7 separate regions of the Homo sapiens genome follow, and regions 2, 3, 4, 5, 6 and 7 are each linked to region 1. The links are contacts of gene promoters, found by promoter capture Hi-C in blood cells and fetal thymus (Javierre and others, 2016). All regions are on one chromosome and are shown on one strand. Each heading gives the region's core, a stretch centred on a gene start or on the middle of the fragment in contact. The rest is flanking DNA. Distances are from core to core; before and after follow the strand shown. Region 1 holds the start of LONRF1 (LON peptidase N-terminal domain and ring finger 1). Region 2 has its middle 15 kb from the start of NCRNA00250. Region 3 holds the start of ZFAT (zinc finger and AT-hook domain containing). Region 4 overlaps EBAG9 (estrogen receptor binding site associated antigen 9). Region 5 overlaps PKHD1L1 (PKHD1 like 1). Region 6 overlaps PCMTD1-DT (PCMTD1 divergent transcript). Region 7 holds the start of PLEKHA2 (pleckstrin homology domain containing A2).

Region 1 (3,514 bases), core at 320-2,819:
TTCTGCTTGTTAAGGTAGTAATTTAGGGGTTAGGATTGGATTTAAGGTTATGCTCATGACTTAATCCCAATGCTTCCCATGCCAAATGCTTAGGAGGTGCTCCTTGGATCTAGCTGCAATTTGCTTCAGGTGCAATGTGAGTGATAAATGAACTTGTTTCTGTCTGCATCCTGTTGGAACAGGAGGCTTGGCTTTTTCTCAGGCACCTCTTTTTTATTCATTCCCTTTAGGGTAATATAACTCTGTCTTTTCTGACGTTACACGACTTGTTGATTGTGTAGTGAAAACACATGAACTCAAAACATTTTTTAGCCTTAATTGCCTGTTCCTTATAAAGAGAAATATTAAACGTTTACCAATTTCATACATAGCATGCTCAGGTGAACTTTCCAATTAGCAACTTCTTTTACTTTGAAAATCTCATATATTTCTATGAAATATTACATATTTTATTAAATATTACATATTAGTCTAACGTAGTAGTAGTGGAATAGACGTGATCTTAAAATCTGTATTAGCTGTGTGATTTTTGACAAATAACTTTCCCTGTGTTTCCAATCATTTGAAAAAGGACTAAAAGTCCTAAGTGACTTCCAACATTAGCGATCTAATACCCTATCATCAAATCTGTATTTTCAGCTGAGAGCTTTAAACTTGCTGCTGTGAAGTTTAAGGGAAATAGCACCCATTATATATCAACCCGATCATTTTCTTCTGTCAGCAAAACTGCAGAGCCAGCTTGGGTTGTAGTAATACGGTGACCGCCATGTGAAACATGTTTCTTGGTGTTTTCTTTTAAAACTGCCAAATATAGACCTTAACCAGCTGTAAGGCAGTGCTTGAGGTGTGGAGACACCTGAGGAAGCTGTGGGCTTTCTCCCTCGAGGTGGGCCCACGATGAGTTTTAAGCAAGACGGGCAAGCAGTCACCTGGCACCAGGAAAAACTCCTTGCCCTCTGGAGGGAGTCGCCCCAGGAACGTGGGTTTTTTGTTCATATTTAAAGTTGAGTCCTCTAGAACCGAAGAGTCCCAGTCATCTGCCGAAGGTGCGCTCCCAGGCCCCCTGCTTGGGCGCGCCCACCTGGAACATGGGCGTAGAGCTATGAAAATGCAGACCCGCACAAGCGCGAGGCCACGCGGGGAGACCCCCGCCCGCCAGGAGTTGGGGCAGGTCCGGCCTGGGCGGGGGCGTCGGGGGAGGGGTGGTGACCCGGAGTCCCGCGCGGCAGGGGAGCGTCCCCCAACCCCCGGCAGGGGCGAGGGCCACCGCAGGTGGCGGCGTTGGCAGACAGGCAAGCGGGGACTGAAGCTCCGGGGTCCTTCCGGCTTTGTTCCGTCACGAGCCGAGCCCTCCTTTCCGGAGAAGCCAATTAGATCTCCGACGGAGGAATCATCCGACCTGCGTCCCCCACCCGGAGGGGGCTCGGAAGGGGCGGGGCCCAGCGCTTGGCTCCTCGGGAGCGCGGCCGCGGGCGGCGTGGGGGAGTCCCGGGCGCCGTCGCCGAGCCCGGCCCCGCCCTCGCCAGGCCCCGCCCTCGGGGCTTCCCGGGCGCGCGCAGCCCCGCCGTGTCCGCGCGCCACGCCCCCCTGCTCGCGGGCCGCGTGCGGAGCCGCGCGCCCGGGAGGCTCCGGGACCGTGGCGGCGGGCGGCGGCGGCGCAGCCCTCCGCGGGCCATGTCCTCTCCGGCGGTGGCGAGGACCTCCCCAGGAGGGAGTCGGGAGATGGCCCCAGCGCCGCAGGGCCGAGGCCGGTTCTGGGAAGTGGGCGGCGGCAGCGGCCATCGGCTGGAGCGCGCGGCCGCGGAGTCGGAGCGCTGGGAGCTGCTGCTCCGCCGCGGGGAGCTGCTGGCGCTGGGCGGCCACCTGAAGGGCGCGCTGGAGGCGTTCGCGGCGGCGCTGCGCCGCGGGGCCCCGGCCAGGCCCGAGTGCCTGGGCGCCCTGGTGGACTGCCTGGTGTTCAACTACCGGCTCCGCCACGGGCTGGGCTGGAGCGCGGCCCCGGTTGCAGGCGCTGACGGCGGCGCCGGCGGGCTCCTCAGATGCCTGGGCTGCCGGGGCTTCCTGAGCGAGCCGGTGACCGTGCCCTGTGGCCACAGCTACTGCCGCCGCTGCCTGCGGAGGGAACTCCGCGCCCGCTGCCGCCTCTGCCGGGACCGGCTGCCGCCCGCCACCGCCAGTGCCACTGATGCTGAAGGGACCGCCCCGCGGCCGCCGCCTCTGGCCGCCGCCATCGCCGCTTCAGACTTCAGAACCAGCGTCGTCCTCAACCACCTGGCCGAGAAGTGGTTTCCGGGCCAGCGCGAGCGGGCCCGGGCGGCCGGCAGGCTCGGGGAGCTACTGCACCAGGGGCGCTACCGGGAGGCCCTGGCCGCCGCCTGCGAGGCGCTGCGAGCAGGTGACCGCGCGGGGATGCGGCGGGGCCGGGCCGACCGCACCCTCCTGGCCCCGAGGGCCGGGGACCCGGAGCTTGTCTGCGCCCCGAGAGTCTCCTCTGCTTCCCCGGGGCCGCTGGGCCGCTGGCGTGTCGGGTCTCGGGGTGCTGGGGGGTGTGGGAGGGGGCGGCGCCCCGGGGTGCTTCGGTCATAATGGGGATCGCCCTGGGAGCCGACTGTGACGCGGCGCGGGGAGGGGCGCTCGGCGCGGGGTTCCCTCGGCCGCGGCCTGGCTGTCGGGCGCGCGCTCCCGGCGCGGAGTGGGTGACCTGGACCGAGGCCGCCCCGGCGCGGGATGGGTGGTAGCTGGGCTATCCCGAGCGGCCGCTCGCTTCCTGCCGCGCGCTTTCCGGGAATTGGCTCTCGGGCCGGGCCCGCCGCGGGGAAACGACTGCCGGGGCGGGGAGAGAATCCCCCGCGAGGGCAACTAGGCCGGGCAGGCGGCGTCTCCCTTCCTCACCCACAAAAGTCACCGGGACAATTGGGAACCGCGGGAGGGCAGAATTGCATAAGCTGGGGGCGGGGGGCGTTGTGTAACGGGTGACGTCCGGTGGGCGTGGCGGGAGCTCCGCGCGGGCGCCCGGCCCCGGGAGGCCCTGCAGGCCGCCGGGCTTGGGGCTTGGGGCGGAGCTGCCCAGGGTGGTCCCTTGCTACCTGGAAATGCCTGAACTGGTTCCTCTTGAAAGTTTCAGCTGGCCTGTTTCAGATCCTGCTTATTTCCTATGTACTTTGCAGTGCACCTAGCTTATGGTAAAGATGAGAGGGGCTGCCTGATCCATAGTTCTCTGCCACGCTTCTCCTGGCCTTTCCACTTAGGATCAGGCTGTGGGGAAAGGCCTTATAGGTCTTGAGTGCATTTCTTAGTCTCCAAGAAGCAGCCTCGGCCTCCTAACCTAGGTTAGCACTTTCTTCTTAAGGTGGTTTTAGGCGCTGAAAGGGGGCAGTTTCAAGCTTCTCTTACGTAAAAGGAAGAGTTGTTCTATATAAATCAGTAGTTCTCTACCAGGGGGATTTTATCTCCCCTCTCTCAGGGGGCATTATTTAGAACAATATCTGGAGAGATTTTTGGTTGCCACCTCTTG
Region 2 (3,514 bases), core at 276-2,775, about 120 Mb before region 1:
TCACTGTGAAGAGTCAGGAGTAGTGAATTGTAAGAGAGGCATATGTACCTCTTTAACCAGTTTTACATGTTATTGCTGGGAATATTAGATGGCAATAAGGAAGACAAACAGTTTCACAATGATGATCATTTTTAGTAATCACATTTAGATTTCCAAATTTTATAAGGTGGAAGAATAGACACCATAGTTATAGATGGAGAAGGGCTTTTAGACAGAAGGTCATTGTTAGGAAAATTCAAGTTTACCAATCTTGGAAAAAAAATTACACTTATGCCAGTTACATTCTATGCCTTACAGCACTGCACTGTACCAGTTTTGAATATTCTGTGTCCATAAATACACTAGTATTTGTCCAACCATGAATTCTGACTTTTAGGTTAGAAAATGTGTTCATTTAAATGATAGTTTTAACTTGAGTGAAAAAGCTGGTAATTTTTATCTTCTTTTTTCTGTATTATAATTTTTTGTCATTAATTTTGAAGATCTCATGCTATATGATTAGTTCTGTATATGACTACTTCTGTAATTGATGAACAACTACTAGAATGAATTATTGTACTTGAGCACTTAGAATCATGTCAGGAGAGGCATGAAGTAAGTAGAACATATTTGTGTAGAGATAATAATTTTACTTTCTAAAGCAGTGATTTTGAAACTCTTGCTGAGAGTGTGCTGGAGGAAGTCAAGCATTTCATCCCGGTTTCAACCAGTGCTGTTTTATTTTGATTAATTTTAAGCGTGGAAGTTTGCATAGTATTTCAGTTGAGCAAGGTTCTGTTGTTTAAAAATACGATAGCCTCTATTGTTACCATATTTGCTCTTATCACTTGCCTGCTTAAATCCTTGCTATTTTTTTATTGTTATTACGACTGATAAGACTTTTCTTTCCCTAGCTCCAACTTTATTCTTTATCTCTGATCACTTTTTCCTTTCCATGTAAACCCTGCATTCTAATTCTACTTAAATTGTTTGATGTTCCCTGAGAGGAAAATGTTATTTTTACATCTGCATGCCTTCGCACATGGAACTGCCACCATTCTCACTTGAGCTAGGCAGCACTCAATTCCCTTGGAACCTTGGTCATCTTTCCATAAAAGCAGTTATTACATTGTTTTGTAACCGTGGCCTCCCTTGAGAGCAGAGACCATCTAATTTATCTTGTATTCATACTACTTGGTGTTTATTCAGTATTCAAATGTCTGTTGAATTATTGCATTTAGAATTTGAGAAGTAGTAAAATTACTTTAATAAACACTAATGTGAATAAAATATCCCAGATCTAGTTCTGTGCAAAAGAGTTTTAGTGACAGTGTCCGACATTATGCTAAATATATAAAAGGCACCCATTTGCACTTATCATGAAGTATAATAAATCCAAAATATTTTTTTAAATTATATTAGATTCTAATGGCTTAAGTGATATCTTAGATTCAGTGATCTGATCTTAAAAGTTGATTGTGAAAGCATTTTAATAATTCTATACAGCCTTGGCTGCCTGTGATAATATTTCATATGCGATTAAAGCTGATAGACTTAAAGGGGCCTTCAAGTGTCAAGATATGTAATACAGCAATACCAACTCTAAAGGTAGAATGAAACCTGGAGCTATCCTGCCTGAATTCCTATCACTCTCCTGTCTCTCAGTAGCTGTGTTGTCTTAGGCAAGTTACTTAACCATTCTATACCTCCTTTTTCTCATCAGTAAAATGAACACAATGATAATATTACTTTATATGGCTGTGGGGAAGAGTAGCCAGGAATTAATGTATATAAGCACTTAAAAGAATGCCTGACATACAGAAAATACTCAATACATGTTAACTGTAATTAATTTGAAGTGGCTTCTTAAATCAATATTTATTGTGCATCATTTTCATCTTTTAAAGATAATTGCTTTAATACTTGAGTATCTAATTTTTTTTAAACTTAAGATTTTTAGTTAGTTACTGTGTTTTAGACTGGCAACTGTTTCAGTACTTTCCAAAACTGCTATCTCTACTGAGGTATTGTCCTGTCTCCCAGTGAAATGTAGGCTGTTCCCGTTGGATGGATTGACATGGGAGATTTGAAACTAGTTCTCCTGATTTCTGAGCTTATCATTGAGTTCCCATGACCAGGTGTTGGTAGTGTCCACAACAGAGCAGGAAGAGAAATAGTACAGAATTCCAGTGGCAAGTTCTTAAGCCTTAACCTGTACTTTAAGTCAGTCCTAAACTTTCATATTCCTTAGTAGAGAACAGATGTTCCCCTTTTTTTCCCCCACATTTTCCTTTTTTGGCTTGGGGGAATAGATTTTTTAAAAATCTGAATTTATATTCCAAAAAGGCATGTGCAAGTTAATTTTCCTAAGTCAATGAAGCCGCTTTTTAATCTTACTTTGTAAGATGCATACCTGCAGTGAGAGAAGTAGGTAGGGCTTTAGTAATTTGTGTCAGGGACCATGTCCTATTAAATCCTGTGAAAATATGCACATGTAGTACACAAAGAAAAATTTAAGGGAAGAAGAGTTTTTTCCAAGTTATTTTATAAAGTATTCTTTATAAAAGTATATTTCTTGTAATAATCCCCCATCTGTCCTTCTAGCCCACCTTTACTTTCTCACACTTATGCTCTCATAACAATTAAAATATAATCAAAGTTACTTGGGTAACTTAAAAAATTTTCATTATAGGAAGGAAATGTGTTTTGAAAATCAGAAATTTTTCAAATTTTAATAAATTTTAGTGTTTTTTATGCAAGCTGTGAGTTGAAGATGAGGGGCTGGGATATAAAGCTAAATCGGGTACTTATCTTTATTACTTATGACCTACTAGGGTGTCCAGAGTATGCAGAGAACATATGGGAATTTGGAAGCTGGGAATGGAGACTGGAAAAGTGCTGGATTTTGAATAGTGCCAGGAAATAAAGGAAGACTTAGCAAGGGATCATTTTTCAATGCCAGTGACATGCTGTGTAATAGTCTACCATGGGAAATTTGAATGCTTATACGATTGGTCAGTATACTAATATTGTCTTGTAATTTGAACACTAACTCTTAATATTAACAAATTTTTTTCTCAACAGCCATCGTAGGAACTTTTAAAATAGGTTTTGCATTTCCCCTGAAAATGGTGAGTTAGGTCATATTAGGAAAAATAAATTCTAGAATAAATACAATTTTGATTAAACCGGTTTTCTCTATAAAAACCCAAGACGCTGTATCTATCTTTAATGTTATCTATTGTTAAAATTTCATTTCCCTCAACAGCATGCATTTCCATGTTTATTAGACCAAACAACTTCTTGTTTTACTTCTTACCTTTGTTTTTCCTTGTTGTTGTTATTTAATTAGAAAAGAAATGCTGTTTGGGCCTTTTCATATGCCTCAAAAATGTTTGGTTACACAGAGGAGTGAGTTAGATTTATAGGACTCACACCCAATTTGATCTCCTCAAGTGCATTTCTAACCATGTTTTCATCCACTTTTCCTTGTTTTAGGTTTCTCATAGAAACAGCTTTTCATTGAGCTAAATGT
Region 3 (3,514 bases), core at 732-3,231, about 120 Mb before region 1:
AGGAAACGCTCATCAATGCAGCTTTTTGAGCAGTTCATTTCCAAATAAAGATTCTGATGGGCCCCACCTAGCCATGTATCTTGTGGTGGAGGACGTGGTGGCTGTGAAGCGACTCTGTGGCTGTCTTGGAACTGGCTCTCTTGGAGGCTCTCCTGGAGGCCTGGGGGGCAGTTTGGGTACATTTTAGATGTGGTGGGGAGAGGAACACTGGGCATGGAGAGGCGAGATCCACACCTGGCTCTTCACTATTTTGCTGTGTAATCTCAGAAAGCCATTTGACCACTCTGAACATTCCATTTTCTCATCTGGAAAAGGACAATAATCATATTGCCCAACTTAACCTTCCAGATTGCGAGGATGAAATGAAGAAGGGGGAGGCTATATCTGTGAGCATATATTTAACAGACTGGACAACTTTAGGGTCTTTTCATGGTTCCGTATTTCCCAAGAACAGGGTTAAGGAGCAGGCGGGCAGTCTCCTGAGAAATCAGATGAGTCATCCTGAAGCTCAATGCCCAAGGGAGTTTTCCTCCTAAAAAATAAGTGACCCCAGAACGAAGTGTTCATTCAGTAATATGACTATGCAACAGGCGCTGAGAAAACAAGATGAAAAGGACCTATAAGGGCTGCTCAGGAAGCTCAGTCTAGTGAGGATGAACGCTGTGCAAACAGAGAAGTGGGGGATGGAGCTAGGCCAGTGAGACCAGAGCTGTGGGAACATGAAGTGTGAACTTCAGGGCTGTCCGAGAATTTCATGTTGAGCAGCAACCAAAGAGGGTTATTCCAGGAAAAGAAGAACAGGCAAAGACTAGCATTTCAGGGGAACCATGAACACAAATCAGTTTCCCAAACTTCAGTCTCCTGAAGTCTGCTTTTACACTTTTTTTTTTTGGGGGGGGGGGGGCATGTCTTTGCAGCATGTACACCATTTTAAGTTGACTGATTTTTGAAAATGTAAACGAACAATTTAAAAACTTTATATGACTACTGTAAGTGAAAAACGTTATTTGTCATGAACAGAAAATGACCTTAGAACATGGACCACATCAACTCATTACTCATGAAATAAATAACTGTCAGGCTCAGTTTGTTTCTGAGGCTAACGGGGTGACCATTGACAGAGGTAAGGGAGGGAGATAATGACAGATAGGAATGGATGCTACGTAGAAAATATGAAGTGTCTTGGAGGGTTACTTTAGATGGGTTTCGGGGGGTGAGGGTTAGGGGCTGGAAGATATCATTTGAGCCGAGGACTACAGTGTTGGAGCTAAACACCTTAACATCAAAACCAAAAACAAAGTCATTAAATTTCCACCAGACTCAGCTGCCTGCCGAAGGCTGTGCCACAAGCAGAGAAATGAATGAGCGGGTGTTGGAGGCGCGCACATCCAGTGCAGACTTGTTGTGGGACAAAAAGAGACGAGAGAGGAGGAAGTCGCCTTGTCACGTGTGATCGTAGGCCGCTCAGTGCTCTGTAGCCCCTAAAACCCAGCCGGGTGGCCCAAAGGAAAGCACCCCACGCTTCGGGAAACGCCGCAGCTTTGAGCGGGATGCAGGTTGGGAGCACCCCGATGGACACATCAGTAAACTGAGAGCAAGAAAAGTTAATTCGCTGCCCCAAGTTAGGTAGTGAGAGGTAGAGCTGGGACACGAAGCGCACCCAGAACTCTCCTTGCACGCCCAGCTCGGCGGCCCCACATGCCGCGGGTCTAGGGTCGCGCTAGCAGAGGCCTGGCACAACCGCCAGACTCCTGACCCCGAGATCCGCGCTCCGGACCTCCCGAGGGCCCCTCCCTGGGCGTGGCTCAAAACGCGGCGCAGCGGAATCCGTGAAGTGGGATAAAAAGCACGGCCTCCGACTGCGAGCATGCGCGTTAGCTCGGCCCTGCCGGGCCGCGCTCGGCGCCGGGGGAGGGTCACCCGAAGCGGACGTCCGCTACGCAGGCGTCTGCGCCCCGTGGGGAGGAGGGCGAAGACTCCATCCGCCATGTTGGATGCCGCAGATTCGCCATAACCTCGCCGGCTCTTTTCTTAAAAAAATAAAAATAAAAAGCGAAGCGTCAGCAGGGCGCCCCGCCCCCTCGGTCGGCACGGGAGGGGGCCCGGAAGAGCCCGAGGCTTTTTTTTCCTCCGCGGTGGGGCGTTGCCATGGAGACGCGGGCGGCAGGTGAGCCGGGCTGGGGGTTGGGGTGAGACGGGGTGGGGGTGGGGCGCGGCGCGGCGCGCGGAAAGCCGTTTCGAGCGTCGAGTCGGGAAGCAGTGCGCCGGCCGCCGGCCGCCGGCCGCCGGCCGCGGAGGGATCCGGGTCTGGGGAGGAGAGCGAACGTAGTTGCGTTCTGCGGCTCACGTTCAGTCGCTGGGGTATCCCGCCGCAAAAAAAAAAAAAAAGCAAGGCGGGAGCGAGTGGGAGAGCATGCGCCCGGCCGTTTCCACGGCAATGGGTGGCGTTGGGGCGCGGGCCAGCGACGGAACGCAGTGGGCGCGAGGTTCGAATCCCGGCGATGCCAGCTCTTTGACTGGACCTTGGCGGGGCTTCCTTCTTGCCTGGCCTCGGATTCCTCCTTGGCGAAATGAGTACCTCCTGCAGGCTTCCCGGCCGCCGGCTGGACCTAATAGAGTGACAGATCTTCCACTTGACACCCGGTGCAAGTCATTTAACCTTGAGCTTGGGGTCCTTCACCTGTAATTACCACAAGCTTCCACATTTGGGCACTGACTTAACACGTTTTGCTGCTCAGCTCTCTTGAGAACTCTAATTTGTAGGTCATTTATTATGAGGAACAGAAGTTCAGAGAGGTCAACTTTACACAGTTTAAAAACGACAGAGCTGGGGCTTTAAAAATTAACTTCCTCCAACTTGGGCTAAAATCCAAACTCCTGCGTGCTCGCCTGACTTGTACCTCCATCTTCTTAGAATAGGGCTTGGCTCATGTAAGTGTTCACTATATACTTAGTGAATGAAAGAACGAACGCGCTAACTGATCACGCCTGCCCATCAGTCTGGCTTTTTTTGCTGGAGTCCAAGTGACCTTTTGGAGATGCCCCGCACAGCTGCCTCTCACCAGCTTTATCTTCCGAGCCTACCAGTTCATCTACTGAAACATCTGTAGTGTGTGTCCCCATGCTGAAGGAAGTAGCGTGTCCTACCTCTAACCCCCAGGGACACCTTTCCTGACTTTAGTTCAAATAACAGCTTTGCAAGGATCCCCTCTGCACGCCAGGCAGGGGTAAAGAGCAGTCCCAGTCGTAGTCCTGCCTCCACCTGCTGCGGTGCTAGATGTGGGAGAATGTGTCCTGGAGTGACAGAGTGGGCCCAGAGCCGAATATTGGGTCAGGAGACCCGAACTATATCAGGCGTGCTTTTTTTTAATTTAATTTTTTTAATTTTTTGGGACAGAGTCCCGCACTATCACTCAGGCCGGGGTGCAATGGTGCAATCTCGGGTCACTGCAACCTCTGCCTCCCGCCCTCAGGTAAACCTCCCGCCTCAGCCTGCCAAGTAGCTGTGACCACA
Region 4 (3,514 bases), core at 394-2,893, about 97 Mb before region 1:
ACTGAACAATGAGAACACATGGACATAGGAAGGGGAACATCATACACTGGGGCCTGTTGTGGGGTTGGGGGAGAGGGGAGGGATAGCATTAGGGACATACCTAATGTTAAATGACGAGTTGATGGGTGCAGCACACCAACATGGCACATGTATACATATGTAACTAACCTGCATGTTGTGCACATGTACCCTAAAACTTAAAGTATTAAAAAAAAAAAAAGAAATAGGCTTTCTAATAAATGTGAATTGTATCACCTAATTTTAACTATAGGAATCTAAAAAGTAGTTTAATCTCCAAAAGCATAAATCTTAACATACTTTCTGAGTTTTCCTAATAGTTGGTGTCATGTCCTTAAAATAGTCAGGTTCCAGTTGTTCCAAAGAATTTTGTTGTGTTGCCACATTCCCATTCCCTCCTTCGATCTTTACACTGGTGGGTGCATCTTCATCCCAGGAAGTCCACTCTTCAACATCTGTCTAAATTTAATTGATCAACATTATCAGCCACAAAGGGGCAACTTAATGAACACATCATTGATGATTTATTAGAAAAATGGGCTTTCTAAAACACTGGTTTTCAAACTTTTTTAACCCACGGGAAAACATACATTTCATATCACAGATCAAAACTTGATCAAAAGTTCAAAAAATACAAGACATTCTGATATATTCTGTTCTATTTTATTCTATTATGTCCATCAAAAAACAAAAAACAAAGTAAAACGAAAGCAAATGCTCTGAAAACTGAACTGACATTAAAACTACAACTCACAGAAGGGCTGGACATTTTCACCCAAGCCTATCCAGATTGATCATCTGATAAAAAATACCAAGCTTCTCCACAGGATTTAAATAAGATGAAGTCTCAAAACATAGTATTCAAAATGTTCATGAAACAACCCAGAATTATTCAGCATATAAAAACAATACATCTAAATTTGCAAGGCAAGTTAATCAACAGATACCAACACCAAAATGATATGTTGGAATTCTCTAAGGCTTTAAAATAGCTATTATAAAAATGCTCCAACAAACAATAGCAAACACTTGAAACCAATGAAAACACAATAGAAAATGTCAACAAAGAAACAGAAGATAAAATGTAGAACCAAATAGAATTTTCAGACCAGATAAATTTAACAACACAACAAAAATTAATTTCTATTAATGATCTGCAATCCAGTTTTTAAAATATTGTTCTAGGACACTTATTCAATCTTTCAAAACAAAACAAAACAAAAGAACACACAAAAAAAACCTACCTGCTTAGGAACTGATGAATAATCAACTGTAGTTGGCAAAGTTATTTGGTCTCCACTTAATTTCCGTCCTCTGCCAGATCTGAAACAAAAATGAAATAATTTATTTCAAGAACCACCAAAACAAGCAAAGTAAAAGCACTATTATGTATGGTAATTGAAGGCTTATAAAACAAGATCTTTCTCAATTTTATGATTATTGATTTTAGTAACAGTTACTCACTAATTTATGGTAAAAAAAAGTCATAAATCAGACATCCTGTGAATGTTTTTTAAATCTTGGACAGAACAACATAACTGCTTTTTGGCTTAGGACTCAGAATTATAAACAAACTCAAGAGGAATATAAAGTCAAAAATAAAAATGCAAGACGGTTTCAGAGCATGCTCCTTGGAGTGCTGTGGGTTCTGTGGGTGAAGTTCTGGGCCACCTTTGCTGTTTTAAACAGGGTGGCTTGGCTTTTATGTTTTACACATGGGGTTTCTTGATAAGATTAACTATTAAGAAGTTTAAAAATCACTAGTTTGAACCAAATGGTAACTTACTTTTAAGGATTAGTAGGAAAAGTACCACATTCAACAGGACGTACTATAACTCAGTTGTTAAGAACATGGGCTGTGGAATCTGTGTAAACCACAGTTTTCAATGTTACTTCTATTATGTCTAGTTAGAATTACCTACTTTTCAGCCTCAACAGCCTCATCTATAAAATGCAGGTATTCAAACCCACTTTTGCAGGGTTGTTTGGATTTAATTAAGTGACATATTTAAAAACCCTAGACAGTGTGTGCCTGCTACATAGCACAACATACAAAAAATGGCAGGTAATAGAGATAATTAGTCATTTACTTCACTTCAAATAATCTATAAAAAAAAAAAGCATCAACTAAGAACTAAGAACGATAAAGTCAGCTATTTTTATTACAGATTCAAAGCTATATTTGTTTAAAGGGTGAATAGAAAAGTAATATAGTCCTTTATGAAATTTATGATACAAGCGTGTTTTTCCTTTCCATAGAGATGGGGTCCTGCTGTGTTGCCCAGGCTGGTCTTGAACTCCTGGCCTCAAGCTATCCTACCCCCTCGGCCTCCCAAAGCATTGGGATTACAGGCATGAGCTACCATGCCTAGCCAAGTCTGGTATTTTAAAATACATGGTCTAAGGTTCCTTCAGACACCAAAGAGAAGCTTATCCTAACATATGGTCAGTTTTCTTTAAAACTGAACATACAATCAATTCTAAATATGTATACATTTACAACAGAAATTTATAGTGCCAATAGGAATGTCCTTAATATTTTTACATCAAGAAAATTTCTTATCCTAGAAGTAATCTATATTTAATGAAAATTTTAAAAAATAGAAGTATAAGAAGAAAACATCTACATTTCATCACCACTGTTAACACAATGCTTCTTTTAACTTCCTGCCTTCTGGCAATTAATACCCATTTTTAATGTTGCTTTACCTGGTGAATTTCTGGCCATTCTCTTCCTCATTCTCTGGTAATTTGAACACTTAGTTTGCTCCTTTTTCTACTTCCCAAATCCTATCCTCTTGGGTGATTTCAAGTCAACCACCTAAATTTTCCATTTCTTTCTTCACTTCTGCCCCAGTGATCATCCAGAGATGATCATTTCACCCACTTGTTCTCTTGCAATACCCTGGATTTTTTTTTTTTTTTTAAATCCCAGACCACTCTACTTTTAGCAATAAGTTCAATTTAGCAGCTATCAAATGGTCATATAGCCAGAGACTGCAGTTCCTATCCTTCCTTGCAGCTAGGGGGCCATATGACTAAGCTCTGGAAAGCAGGCAGTGCAAAAATTGTTGTGTGTAACCTCTAAGTCATGTCTATATATATTAAAAAAAGAGCTGATTGCTGTCCATTTCCTCTTTTACTATACCCTCCTCTTAGTATGTAAGTAACTTTTTCACAGTACCCTTAGGCCACAGAAACACCTAACAATTCCACTGAATAAGGTAGTTACACCCAAAAAACTTAAGTATATCCTAACTGCTTAGTAGCCATTGTAAAAAATACACATTTAAAGAAAAAGTAATATTTTTATTTTATTCTTAAATAACCACAATCACTGAACTTATTAATGAAATTTGTGTGCCTGTTGAACACTGCACAGCTTCTTATGCCTTAGAATAAGACTGGAGACCATCATTCTTGTTTTCAGTTCTACATTAATTTTGGTGCAGTACTCGCTTTTAATTACAACCTAAAATCCTGGCTTTGCAATGAG
Region 5 (3,514 bases), core at 654-3,153, about 97 Mb before region 1:
CCCTCCCCTCAGTCATTCCGCCACCTCAAAGATGTGGAATGCTGAGTTTAATTCAAGACGTAGCCTCCTCCCAGTAATTTTTAATTGAATTGTGTTGAACTAGAAATGAAGAAGTGGCACTTCACCGTGTCCATGCATTTGTTCCTCACATGCACCCTGGACTTGCCCTTCTTTCAACCTGAGATGTTCTTTCCTTCAGTGCTTCTCTCTTTGCAGCCTGATTCTTCTTTTTATCTTGTATGCTATGAAAGGGGTTGTTATGTGCAGGGGACCCTCAGAATACTATGCTCCACAGTTGCAAAGTGACTGGTGAGGGAGAAGTGAATAGGGTCTAAGGCCAAAATCAGTTTATGCAAATTGTTCTCAACAAGCCTTTTTCTTTATATGCCTTTAATTTTTTTTTTTATTACAGCTGCCTTTGTTCTCCCACCCTGACCCAGCAACCACCTACCCACTTAACTTTGTGATAATCTACCACAACCGTCCTCTTTCCAATTTGCACCACGTTTTTTATTAATAATTTAATTTCCAAGACGGGAAAGATGTGTTTATGGCTCGTGCTCTGGAATGGTTCTGTGTAAAGTTGGGTAAAATTATTTAATCTGTTCACCTCAATTTCCTCATCAGTAAAATGGCCATAATAGTGCCTACTTCATGCAGTAGTAATGCTTGCAAAGCTCTCTTAGCACAGAGCCTGGCACATAGCAAACATTCATAGATAACAGTTGTTGCTGCAGCTACTACTACTACTGCATTACTATTGCATTACTACAGTATCATTTCCGGTAATTGCATTTCCCAAAGGCCATGCAACCCCTTTCAGTCCCTTAAACACCTGCTCTAACTTTAATCTCTAGAATTCTAATGCCTAAATTTCAATATAAAATTTCTAAATTTTTTTTGGATTTAAAAAATCGAGTTATCTAGCTGGGCACGGTAACTCATGCCTGTAATCTCAGCACTTTGGGAGGCCGAGGCAGGAGGAACGCTTGAGCCCAGGAATTTAAGACCAGCCCAGGCAACGGGCGAAACTCCGTTTCTACAAATAATTTAAAAATTAGCCAGGTTTGGTGGCGCATGCCTGTAGTCCCAGCTACTCAGAAGGCTGAGGTGGGAAGAATCACCTGAGCCTGGGAGGTCGAGACTACAGTGAGCCATGATTGGGCCCTGCACTCCAGCCTGGGAGACAGAGCAGGACCCTGACTCAAAAAAAAAAAAAAAAAAAATCCAAAATAACCTATATTCGGATATAAACGTGTTTAAATTTTTTTTCTTAAAGAGTTGATTGCTTTAGACAATTTATTATGCCCAAGGATATTTTCTTCTTTTTCCTGATTCTTCAGTTTTCTTTATTAAATTTGCCATTTCCAAATGAAACAAAACGAAATGTATATACTTTTCCAGAAACAGCTAGTTACTGAGTACTTGTTTCCCAACACAATAGCAAAACAGAAAACAAAGCTCGCTAAAGACTGCAAATTTAAAATTTACTTTAGTAATACCTATAAAATAATATTTTAAAATCATCTTTACTTGTTAAATAGTAAGCCCATAATTGGGATCACAAGTCAATAATTTGGGATTGGGTTTAGGGACCACCTCTTGGGAACAGGGAACTTTAAGTCCTGTCCTCTCCCCAAAGCTTGTGTGGGACGGGGGTAGGAAACCACCAGATGTCAAATGGGAGGAACATAAGGGATAGAACCTGGCATATGAATTTCTTTTACTCAATGGAATATAGTAAATTCTGTCTGCTCTGTGTCCAAACCATTTTGCTCACTTTAACGCTTCTGATCAGCCTCTGCCCAATTACCAGCTTGATTTATTCACACTATCAACCTCCAGCCCACCACTTACTCTCCCCTTTCAAAGCCTACATAGGCTTTGTTCTGACTTCTCCAGCTGGGGCTAACTCTGGCCTTGTCACCTGACCTGGCCCAGGAGGTAGGAGCAGACTGCAAACACAGCCCTCTGCTTCCAGATCTTTCCCAACCCAGTTCCCTGGCTTTTCATCAAAGGGTGGGTTTTTTTTCCCTCAAACACAATTTTAGACCTGCTGTTCTGACTTGGACTTTAATGGCTTTTTATTAATGAGCAGCTGTTCACAGTTGAATACAAGATCATAAAGTCACATTCATTTCTTGATCAAGTAAAACAAAGCTTTGCCGCACATAGAGTGACATCTTTGAGCAGATACATTTGAAAGCATAGGATTTTCTGATGAGAATTTTAATGAATTGTTTTATTAATCTTCCTACTGGAGAATTTTACTTGCTTTCAAAATAATAAACATTAATATTCTGGAAAATTATAACTTCTTTTTTAATACTCAAAATCACCATATACTAGTTAGGGTCAATTGCCTAATAGAGAAATCAAACAGTCTGAAGCAGATTTTTTATTTCTTTTCTATTAAATGAAAATTAACTTTCTATGAAGCATTTAAATAAATTTTTCCTCATAATTGTTATTACAATTAGCAGTAACTTTTATTGCTAAATACAGGAAGATTCAAAATTTAGTAACAATTTAGAGTTAACCAGTTTTCTTCAGAAGGGGCCTGGTTAGAAATCAAGAAAAATAATACATATATTTTAGTAGAAATAAATTCAAATGAAAAGATGAGGTGAATTCTCATTTTGTGTTCAGTGGTGAGGTTCAGCCACATCATACTTCTGGCTAATGTCCACATCGTTATTAGATTTATGACAGAGTTCAGCTATATTATGAATTAAGTAGAGTTGATGGGAACAGCATCTGGCAGTCTAAGACCTTTTGTTATTTCTAACAGTAAATGTATTGAAATTCATACAACCAACATAAAACAGTAGTTTGTAAATCTATCTTGTACATGGATTGAGAAAGTAGAAATAAAACAACATGAAACAATGTGAGACTCATTCATTGAGCTACAGCATGATGGACATCGTGACTTTGACCTTGAACAACTTTAAGCCTCAGTTTTCTCATCTGCAAAATTAGGTTAGTAATTCCTGCTTTACGGATTTATTTTGCAAATTAAATATCATACCATATGTGGAAATGTGTTGGAAACACAGCAATAAAATCGGTGAAACCTTTGAAGCAGGCAGATTTGTTATCTTCAAGATCAGTACAATCCCCTTTAGCTCACAACATGGAATAGTGCTTCCAAGAAATAGAGGTGAATTTTATGTCATCAGCAACCAGAAGTAGACATGTCTACTAGCAATATATTAACAAAGGGAAACAGGGAGGGACAGCCAGAAGTCAACCCTCCATACCCCCGCTTCTACCTTCTTTGTTCCCTTCTTTGTTCCCTTTGTTTTAAAGGCATAGGATGAAAGAGCAGCTGTCAGAACTATGACACTTACAATCCTTCCCCTCTCTCTCCAGGCTTTTATGTACTACTCATGGGATATTTATTTCATACCAAGATCTGTTGCCAAGTTTTGTCTATTCTTTCTTCTCAGTGTCCATCATTTCAGCACATCTGGATATCAAAATGATCTGCTAACTTAGTCTTTTGTATTTT
Region 6 (3,514 bases), core at 314-2,813, about 39 Mb before region 1:
ATTATCCTTTTTGCATTCTATGTTCTAGCTAAATCAGATTAATCTCTGCTCTTTGAAAACAAATGATCTATGTAAGCGTTATTCTTTTATATTCCATGTTCCTAAAATAGCTATTCTCTTTATCTCCATAATTCAAAAATTCTATTCAAATTTCAAAGCTTGATTCAAATTTGACTTCTGCCATGGAACACTACTATGGAGCAAGAGTATTTTATTTGTACCCTTACTATTATGTCAAGGGTCACTTTCCTCCTTCTATTATTTGAATGTAAGTTTATTAAGACAGAAGCTATATCATATATTATTGCAATATCCTCAGCATCTATCATAGTGTCAGAAAATGTTTATTGAACTTTAATAGATTCTTTAAAAAATATTAAATTTTACATATACATTAAAAAGATGTTTATCCACAGTTTTGATGCACTTAAGTTTACAAGCAGAAGTTTTCCTTTTTCTCCACTCCATGATTCTGTTTTTTAAGAAGCAGAATTTTTAATAAAGGAAAGATATTTATATAGATTAAGCACCATATAAGAGTAATTTTAACTTGTGAGTTAAAGTCACTTTTTGTTTACTGTAGACAATAAATTATAAATGCTTATTTTTCTAAAAGAAATTCATTTTTTGATAACTTATATTTCCTTTTATTGGAAGATTATCCTAGCATTAAAATCTATGTAATTGAGGGATTATATGTGCAATTTAAAATAAAATTATGCTTTCCCAAAGTCATTTAATCCTATTAATTGTCAAGTGAATATTTCAGAAATTACTGACCTTTTTAATACTGAAAATGAAATCTGCCTGTGCAGACTACATCCAATTAGAAACTAACTCCTGGGCTCAAGTAATCCTCCCATCTCAGCTTCTGGAATAGCTGGGACTACAGGCATGCATCACCACACTCAGGTAATTTTTAAATTTTTTGCAGAGATGAGGTCTCACTATGTTGCTCAGGCTGATCTTGAAATCTTGCAACTTCTGAGCTCAAATGATTCTCCCACCTCTGCTTCCTATAGGGCTGGGACTATAGTCGTGAGCCACTGTGCCTGGCCAATGACAATTCTCTTTAAGAGAGAAAATACTTCTGTTTTTGCTTTTTTTTTTTTTGCAGGGGGAGGGGGATGGTGAGGTAGGGGAGGTGATGAATTTAACTGTACTGAAAATGGTACAAGGAAATCAAACTGCAGAAAAAAACAGTTCCACATTTAGTTACATTTTAGTTTTGGGTTTTCCCCAGACATTGCAGGCCAAATTAGAGTTAAGATGAGGAAATCCTTTCAGTCCTCACAGACCAGACTTGGCTTTATAAAACATAATCAAGTCCCACTATACAACCTAGGTGTTAGGAAGCAACTAGAGTTTTCAAGGTAGATCTGGGCAACACGCAGACACCTCCATTTCTGAGGCTGAAGGAAACATGCACCAGTGCTAACTGCCACGCATATGAAAAATGTGAACTCCTAGCACGGTGACAGTAGCTGTATGCTGAATACCATTTAATTTAATAAGCATTTGTTTGTTGAATACCTTATGCATTCAAATAACAGAGCACTTCTGATACAACAATGCTTCAGCCTACACAGTATTCTGAAAGGAGTCCCAAATAGCTCAATTTTACTTTGGGTATTTTCTGCTTAATAATAAAAGTGAAGCAACCTCGTATGAAGAATTAAGTTATTACAGTAAGTGTTATTGCTGTTGCCAGGACCAAACTTACTGTAACAATGTATCAAGAACTCTAGGAATAAACTGTGTGTGGGTTATCTAAATTTATCAAAGTCTAAATAAATCTCTAAATGATTCTAGATGATAATTTAAAATTTAAATTACTCATTCAACAAATGCAGAGTATCAGTGTTGTAGCAGCCACTGTATCAGGCCCTGCAGAGAAATAGTGAGCATACTGGGTATGTGCCCAACTTTCATGATTACAAATTAGTAGGAAGTCACACACAAGAAGTGAATTATAGCCAGACGTGGTGGCTCATGCCTGTAATCCCAACACTTTGGGAGGCCGAGGCGGGTGGATCACTTGAGATCGGAGTTTGAGGCCAGCCTAGCCAACAGGGGAAACCCCATCTCTACTAAAAATACAAAAATTAGCAGGGGGTGGTGGTGCGCTCCTGTGATCCTAGCTACTTGGGAGGCTGAGGCAGAACTGCTTGAAGCCGGGAGGTGGAGGTTGCAGTGAGCAGAGGTTGCCACTGCACTCCAGCCTGGGCAAAAGAGCAAAAGACTCTGTCGCCCCCACCCACAAATGAATTATATGTGTAAGGTATGGAGGCATAATCAGAAATTACGTGAAGGTAGAGATGGGGTGTGCCTACCACAGGAAAATTACAGGTGATAGAGTGCTTTACTTGCTGTTCAACTACTCACCCACAAGACTAGCATTTGGTGTTGTTTATTAAGAAGGTATTTACTAGCAGTCTTATTTAAAAAATGACCTGTGTTTAACTTTCCAGCCGCAGAAGAGAAAAAAGGTCTAGAACCCTGAAAAATTCCCATAGCAGAAGGAAGAAAGTAAAGGAAAATATGCTTTTAAAAAATGGAGAGAAAACAGGGGAAACGGCTGTAAGAGTTGTTTAATGATTTTAGCTATTTTCCTTAGATTACCATTTGTACTTTTTTTGTTTGTTTATGGTAAGATAGTTTTCATGTGCCAAAATTTCTGCTTGGACTAACAGAAAATTCATCCTGTAAGATTGTTATATGATCCCACAACGGTTAGGAGTGCCCTGGGTCCAGGCAGAAATCCAAAGATGGAGCTAATAATGTGACCCGCAGCTCTACTCCAGAATGCAGATGAATAGAGATTTTGAACAGTTCGGAGCTCAATGTCCACTGAATATGCACTCATACTTTAAACCTAAATAAAGTGAAGCCTTTGAGTTAAATGGCAGAGCGCCTCAGCAGCAATTTTGCTCGTTTTCAAGTTCTTATTTCGTGATTTGAAGCTTTTGACCTTGCTAGCATGTTCTTTCTGAACGCTTTTGCAGATGGTTGGTTATGGTGGGGAGTAGTAACCCTAGCATAAAGACGTTCTAATTCTAACTTACCTTAGGTAACCTATAAGGGTAGCTTACGCTCACTCTCATACTTGAAAATCAAAACCGAACAGAATTCACACGATGGAAGCAAATCATGCTACAACCTACTATTAGAGACTGAAGGGAAACGCACAAAGATTAATGAACAACAAAGAACACTTCAAAAAGTACAGTATTTGGAAAAGACATGCCTTTATGTACACTAAAACTAATTTAAAAAATTAAATGCAGTTTGCTAGGAGTCTTACAAGTATTAACAGCATGTTCACTGCTTAGGATCCTTAGTAGCAATATTTTCCCGGCTCGCCTGCCCCTATGCCTCATTTCCTCTTCTTTTTTTTTTTGAGATGGAGTTTCGCTCTTGCCGCCCAGGCCAGGTGCCATCTCAGCACTGCAACCTCCGACTCCCGGGTTCAAGCGATTCTCCTACCTCAGCCTCCCGAGTTGCTGGGACTACA
Region 7 (3,514 bases), core at 475-2,974, about 26 Mb before region 1:
ATTCATTCATTAATGCAATAAACATTTACTTAGCACCTGGTACATGTCATACGTTGGGCTGGCCATAATCTAGACTACAAGCTAGACCTCTGATAGTGCAAAAGTCATCTGCCTTCAGGCGGCACATGGTGAAGAGGGCTAATGTCTGAGATGATGATGATGCTTTCTAAAAGCTTACTCTGGCTTCTCAAAACAAGTGGGGGGCTTACAAGTCCTGTAAGCTCGCCAAAGACAGGGTCCAGCCCTCCAGAGGTAAAGGAAAAAGAAAAAATAAAGACAGGGGTTGTGTTTTGTTCATCACTGCCTTGCATGTATAATACATGTCAACTGAATGCAACTGAAATAGAAAGCAAAAACTTCTATTCTTTCAAGATCTTTTGCTTTGCTGTTTCGGAAGGCTTCGCAACCAAAGAAAAAAAATGACAAAAGAAGGGAAAATGGGACTTGGTCAGATAGATTAAGAACACCATTAGTGCAATCTTGGGACTTCAGCCCCAAGTGCATCTACAGCTCAGCCTTCAGAGCCCCCAGAGCCACAGCTGGCTTTCTGGTGGGGTGCTCTCCCCTCCCTCTTCTCTGCCGTTTACTGTCCTCTGAAAACCCCACTTGGAGCCCTAAAGAAAGAAAGGGGGCGGGCAGGAAGAAGGAATGAGAAGGGGAAGATACATCCTGAACCTGCGTTCACCAAGAAGGAAGGAAGCCAAACCCTAAGGCTAGGGCCTGGGGGCAGGGCTGGCCCCGGGGAGGAGATGTGAGGGTGCTCCGGCCGCAGCGGGCCCTGCGCCCCTCTCTGGGCGTGCAGGGACACTTTTCCCTTCTAAACGGCCTAGCTTCCCACCACCCCCCCCCACACCCTTCTTTTCTCTTTCTTTTTAAAAAAATTTTGGTGAAATCGTCTTTAGGACTGGAGGAGAAAAGGGAAGCGTGTAAGGTGAGGAAGAAGTTGGTGAGAGAGAGAACGACAGCTCCCCTCGAGGGCTCACCCAACCTGGCACCGAACCTGCATTTTAGGGCAGTCCTTTTCACTGTCTGGAGTTCCAGAAGCCCGAAGTCCAGGCTGCACCCAGAGGAAAGGACAGGAGTCCCTAGGGGAGCCTTCTAGGCCTGTCATTTAATAAGGTAGTCGGGGGAGTGAAAGAGGAGTCTCCATGGCCCAATCCGTACCCAAGGGACTTGCCTGGGGACGTTCTCTGCTCTCCTCCCCTCCCGCAGCCCGGGCAGTCGTTGCGGGGTCGGTGCCCCAGCGCCAGAACCCGCAGAGAAGTTTCGCTGCTGCAAACGTGAGAAAATGCAGCTCAGCAGAACTCCCGCCCCCACCCTCTCCGCGGCCCCACCCCCCGCAGCCCGACCCCTGGCGGCGGCGACCTTGGCCACCCGGGGCACTTGGAGGAGGGGCTGCCCTCGGGGCTCTCCCAGAGGGTTGGAGGAGGCCTCCAGGGTCTGCGGCCACCTCCCCTCGCCTGTCAGCCACTAGGACCGGCGTATTCAGCCCTGCGCGCGCGCCCCTCGCGCCCCTAGGCCGCCAGGCCTCCGCCGGGGCGCCCCCTGCACCCCCAGCCCCGCCAGCCCCCGCGCGCCCCTCTGCGCCTCTCCACTCCCGAGCCCGCGAGGGCGCCCAACTTACCCCCCCGTGCAGGGGCCGGGGCTCGGGCGGGGCGCGTTACATCGGGCGGGGTCGCCCCTCCGGCCGCCGGGTCCGCCGCGCTCCAGGGATTTCTGGGTCTGCCTGCCAAACTCTCCGCGCCTCTCGCTCCCCTCGCTCTGGTCTCCCCCAGTGCCCCCTCCTTCTCTCCCGTCCCTCGGCTCTTTTTTCCGGGTTAATTACGTTTCGCATTAAAGCAAAACCCAGCCCCGGATGTGAGTACAATGCTCCGCGGAGCCCGCCGGGGAGGGAGAGGGGTGCCGGGGCGCCGCGGGCTGGGAGGGGGTGCGGCCGGGCGCCGGGGCCGCGCGGGGGAGGCGGGGGCGGGGCGCCCGGAGGCTGCGCCCGAGGCCGCCCGCGTTCCGCGCCTGGCAGGTGGGACCTGCGCGCCGAGACTGCCCCGCGGGGAGGCCCGGCCCCGACGCTCGCTCGGGCAGCAGGTGTCCGGGCAGGGGGCGTCCTCGCAGGAGGAGGCGAGCTGGAGCGCGAGCTCCCTCAAGAACCCCATTTCCTCCTCCCAGAGCCCCACCCAGCGACCTCAGCTGGGCCTCCTTCGGATCCCGAGCCCTTAGCCTTTGGGGACCGAGGAGTTGGGGTAAGGGTTAGGGTCCCAAGAAGAGTGGCTTCTTCAGGTTGTCCTAAATGTGCCCTAAGAGACCAGTGGGCGGGAACGCTCTAACCAGGGTTATAAGGACTTTAATTTCTTTATTTTATTTTATTTTTTAATCAAGACAGGGTCTGGCTCTGTCGCCCAGGCTGGAGTGCGGTGGCGCAGTCATAGCTCACTGCAGCCTCGACCTCCTGGGTCCAGCGATCCTTCTGCCCCAGCCTCCCGAGTAGCTGGGACCACAGGCGCCTACACCGTGCCCGTTGGGACTTTTTCGGTGTGATGCGAAGACTCCCTTCCTGCCCCCAGAGCATGAGGGTGCTCTGGGAAAAAATGGGAAACAGACAAGCATGTGTTACTACGTAAACCTCGCCAAGAGGAACTAAGAGAGCTGCTGTGCGCGGGTCCCGCCCCTGCGCTATCTCATTTGATCCACGCCGCAACCTATGGGTACCAGTCCGGTTCACGGTGAGGAAACCGAGACTCAGACTTGTGAAGTAATTTGCCCTGGGTACCCAGTTAGTAAACGGCAGGTCTGTCAGGTTCTGACTCCGGCCTCCCACGTCGGGAGAGAGACATTTGAATATGCATCAAGTCAGGTGGACAACATCCGAAACATGAAAATGTAGAAGATTCGCGCGGGCCTGCGGGGCCGTGCGCCGGTGTCTGGCGATCCTAATGCAAACGTTGTTAATCAGGTGTAAATCCTACGAGGCTTTGAAAGAGGCAGGCATAAGAAGACGCTGAGGTTCTCCAGGACAAGGACTGGATTTGCAGGAAGGAGGGAGAGGCTGGGGCACATTCCCGGTGTTAACAGAGGAAAGGCGGCCTCTTATGTCTCCACGACCGACCGGAGGCCACAAGGCCTGGGGAGGGGGGCTCGGGCCGATGAGCCAGGACCGAGGGAGAAGGACAGCCCGCCCCACACACCCCGAAAGCACCAGTGATGAAACCACACAAGTTTCCTCTTCCATTTTGATTGCCAAAGCAAAAATGAACACCGCCGGTGTCTCAGGTGTGAAAAAAGACTGTTTGCTTTAGAGCATTTTGCTTTCAATGAGGAAGAAAAGGGGGACGATGGGCAAAACACACACACACACACACACACACACACACACACACACACACACACACATTTCCCTTGAAATAAATACATCAATGTCTTTTTTTTCCCCGTTCATGGAGGGTTTTGCCACTCATCTGTAAGTTTCAGGCACCAGAACAAACTGAAGAGCATCTCCTCTGGAAGCAAGGAACCTGGATTT

What was found. Contacts are between HindIII fragments. The CHiCAGO score rates a contact against its expected background, and 5 or more counts as called.
Region 2: a contact is called between a fragment that was not itself captured here and the fragment with the promoter of LONRF1 in region 1, in 1 of 17 cell types (naive B cells). The highest score is 6.1, in naive B cells.
Region 3: a contact is called between the fragment with the promoter of ZFAT here and the fragment with the promoter of LONRF1 in region 1, in 1 of 17 cell types (naive B cells). The highest score is 5.3, in naive B cells.
Region 4: a contact is called between a fragment that was not itself captured here and the fragment with the promoter of LONRF1 in region 1, in 1 of 17 cell types (total CD4 T cells). The highest score is 6.3, in total CD4 T cells.
Region 5: a fragment that was not itself captured here is called in contact with the fragment with the promoter of LONRF1 in region 1 in 1 of 17 cell types (naive CD8 T cells); the score reaches 6.2 in naive CD8 T cells.
Region 6: a fragment that was not itself captured here is called in contact with the fragment with the promoter of LONRF1 in region 1 in 1 of 17 cell types (naive CD8 T cells); the score reaches 5.6 in naive CD8 T cells.
Region 7: a contact is called between the fragment with the promoter of PLEKHA2 here and the fragment with the promoter of LONRF1 in region 1, in 1 of 17 cell types (non-activated CD4 T cells). The highest score is 6.9, in non-activated CD4 T cells.

What each region holds. Positions count from the first base shown.
Region 1 is chr8:12,753,581-12,757,094 of GRCh38, reverse strand. It overlaps LONRF1 (LON peptidase N-terminal domain and ring finger 1), which reads left to right and starts at 1,569. Exons shown (of 12, transcript NM_152271.5): 1 at 1,569-2,395. The coding sequence starts at 1,675. RefSeq lists silencers at 1,071-1,740, 1,821-2,160, 2,164-2,354, 2,251-2,790, 2,841-2,920 and 1 more and an enhancer at 1,276-2,095. The HindIII fragment of the contact is 11,195 bases long and covers 1-3,385 here.
Region 2 is chr8:134,821,703-134,825,216 of GRCh38, reverse strand. It overlaps a transcript of ZFAT not described here. Among named protein-coding and RNA genes, the nearest start is that of NCRNA00250, 15 kb to the left of the region's middle. The HindIII fragment of the contact is 5,364 bases long and covers 1-3,514 here.
Region 3 is chr8:134,711,498-134,715,011 of GRCh38, reverse strand. It overlaps ZFAT (zinc finger and AT-hook domain containing), which reads left to right and starts at 1,981. Exons shown (of 16, transcript NM_020863.4): 1 at 1,981-2,167. The coding sequence starts at 2,149. RefSeq lists an enhancer at 1,970-2,149. The HindIII fragment of the contact is 8,105 bases long and covers 1-2,698 here.
Region 4 is chr8:109,551,692-109,555,205 of GRCh38, reverse strand. EBAG9 (estrogen receptor binding site associated antigen 9) reads right to left here. Exons shown (of 7, transcript NM_004215.5): 3 at 1,263-1,341; 4 at 319-477. Among named protein-coding and RNA genes, the nearest start is that of EBAG9, 13 kb to the right of the region's middle. The HindIII fragment of the contact is 1,613 bases long and covers 837-2,449 here.
Region 5 is chr8:109,535,760-109,539,273 of GRCh38, reverse strand. PKHD1L1 (PKHD1 like 1) reads right to left here. Exons shown (of 78, transcript NM_177531.6): 78 at 2,067-3,514. Among named protein-coding and RNA genes, the nearest start is that of EBAG9UORF, 2.2 kb to the left of the region's middle. The HindIII fragment of the contact is 518 bases long and covers 1,645-2,162 here.
Region 6 is chr8:51,899,998-51,903,511 of GRCh38, reverse strand. The region is part of intron 1 of PCMTD1-DT (PCMTD1 divergent transcript); the gene reads right to left. Among named protein-coding and RNA genes, the nearest start is that of PCMTD1-DT, 2.4 kb to the right of the region's middle. RefSeq lists an enhancer at 3,360-3,419. The HindIII fragment of the contact is 2,805 bases long and covers 161-2,965 here.
Region 7 is chr8:38,899,556-38,903,069 of GRCh38, reverse strand. PLEKHA2 (pleckstrin homology domain containing A2) reads right to left here and starts at 1,724. Exons shown (of 12, transcript NM_021623.2): 1 at 1,625-1,724. It overlaps LOC124901937 (a long non-coding RNA gene), which reads left to right and starts at 1,625. Exons shown (of 2, transcript XR_007060893.1): 1 at 1,625-1,857; 2 at 2,374-3,514. RefSeq lists silencers at 1,053-1,722, 1,803-2,212 and enhancers at 2,813-3,062, 3,123-3,312. The HindIII fragment of the contact is 6,068 bases long and covers 176-3,514 here.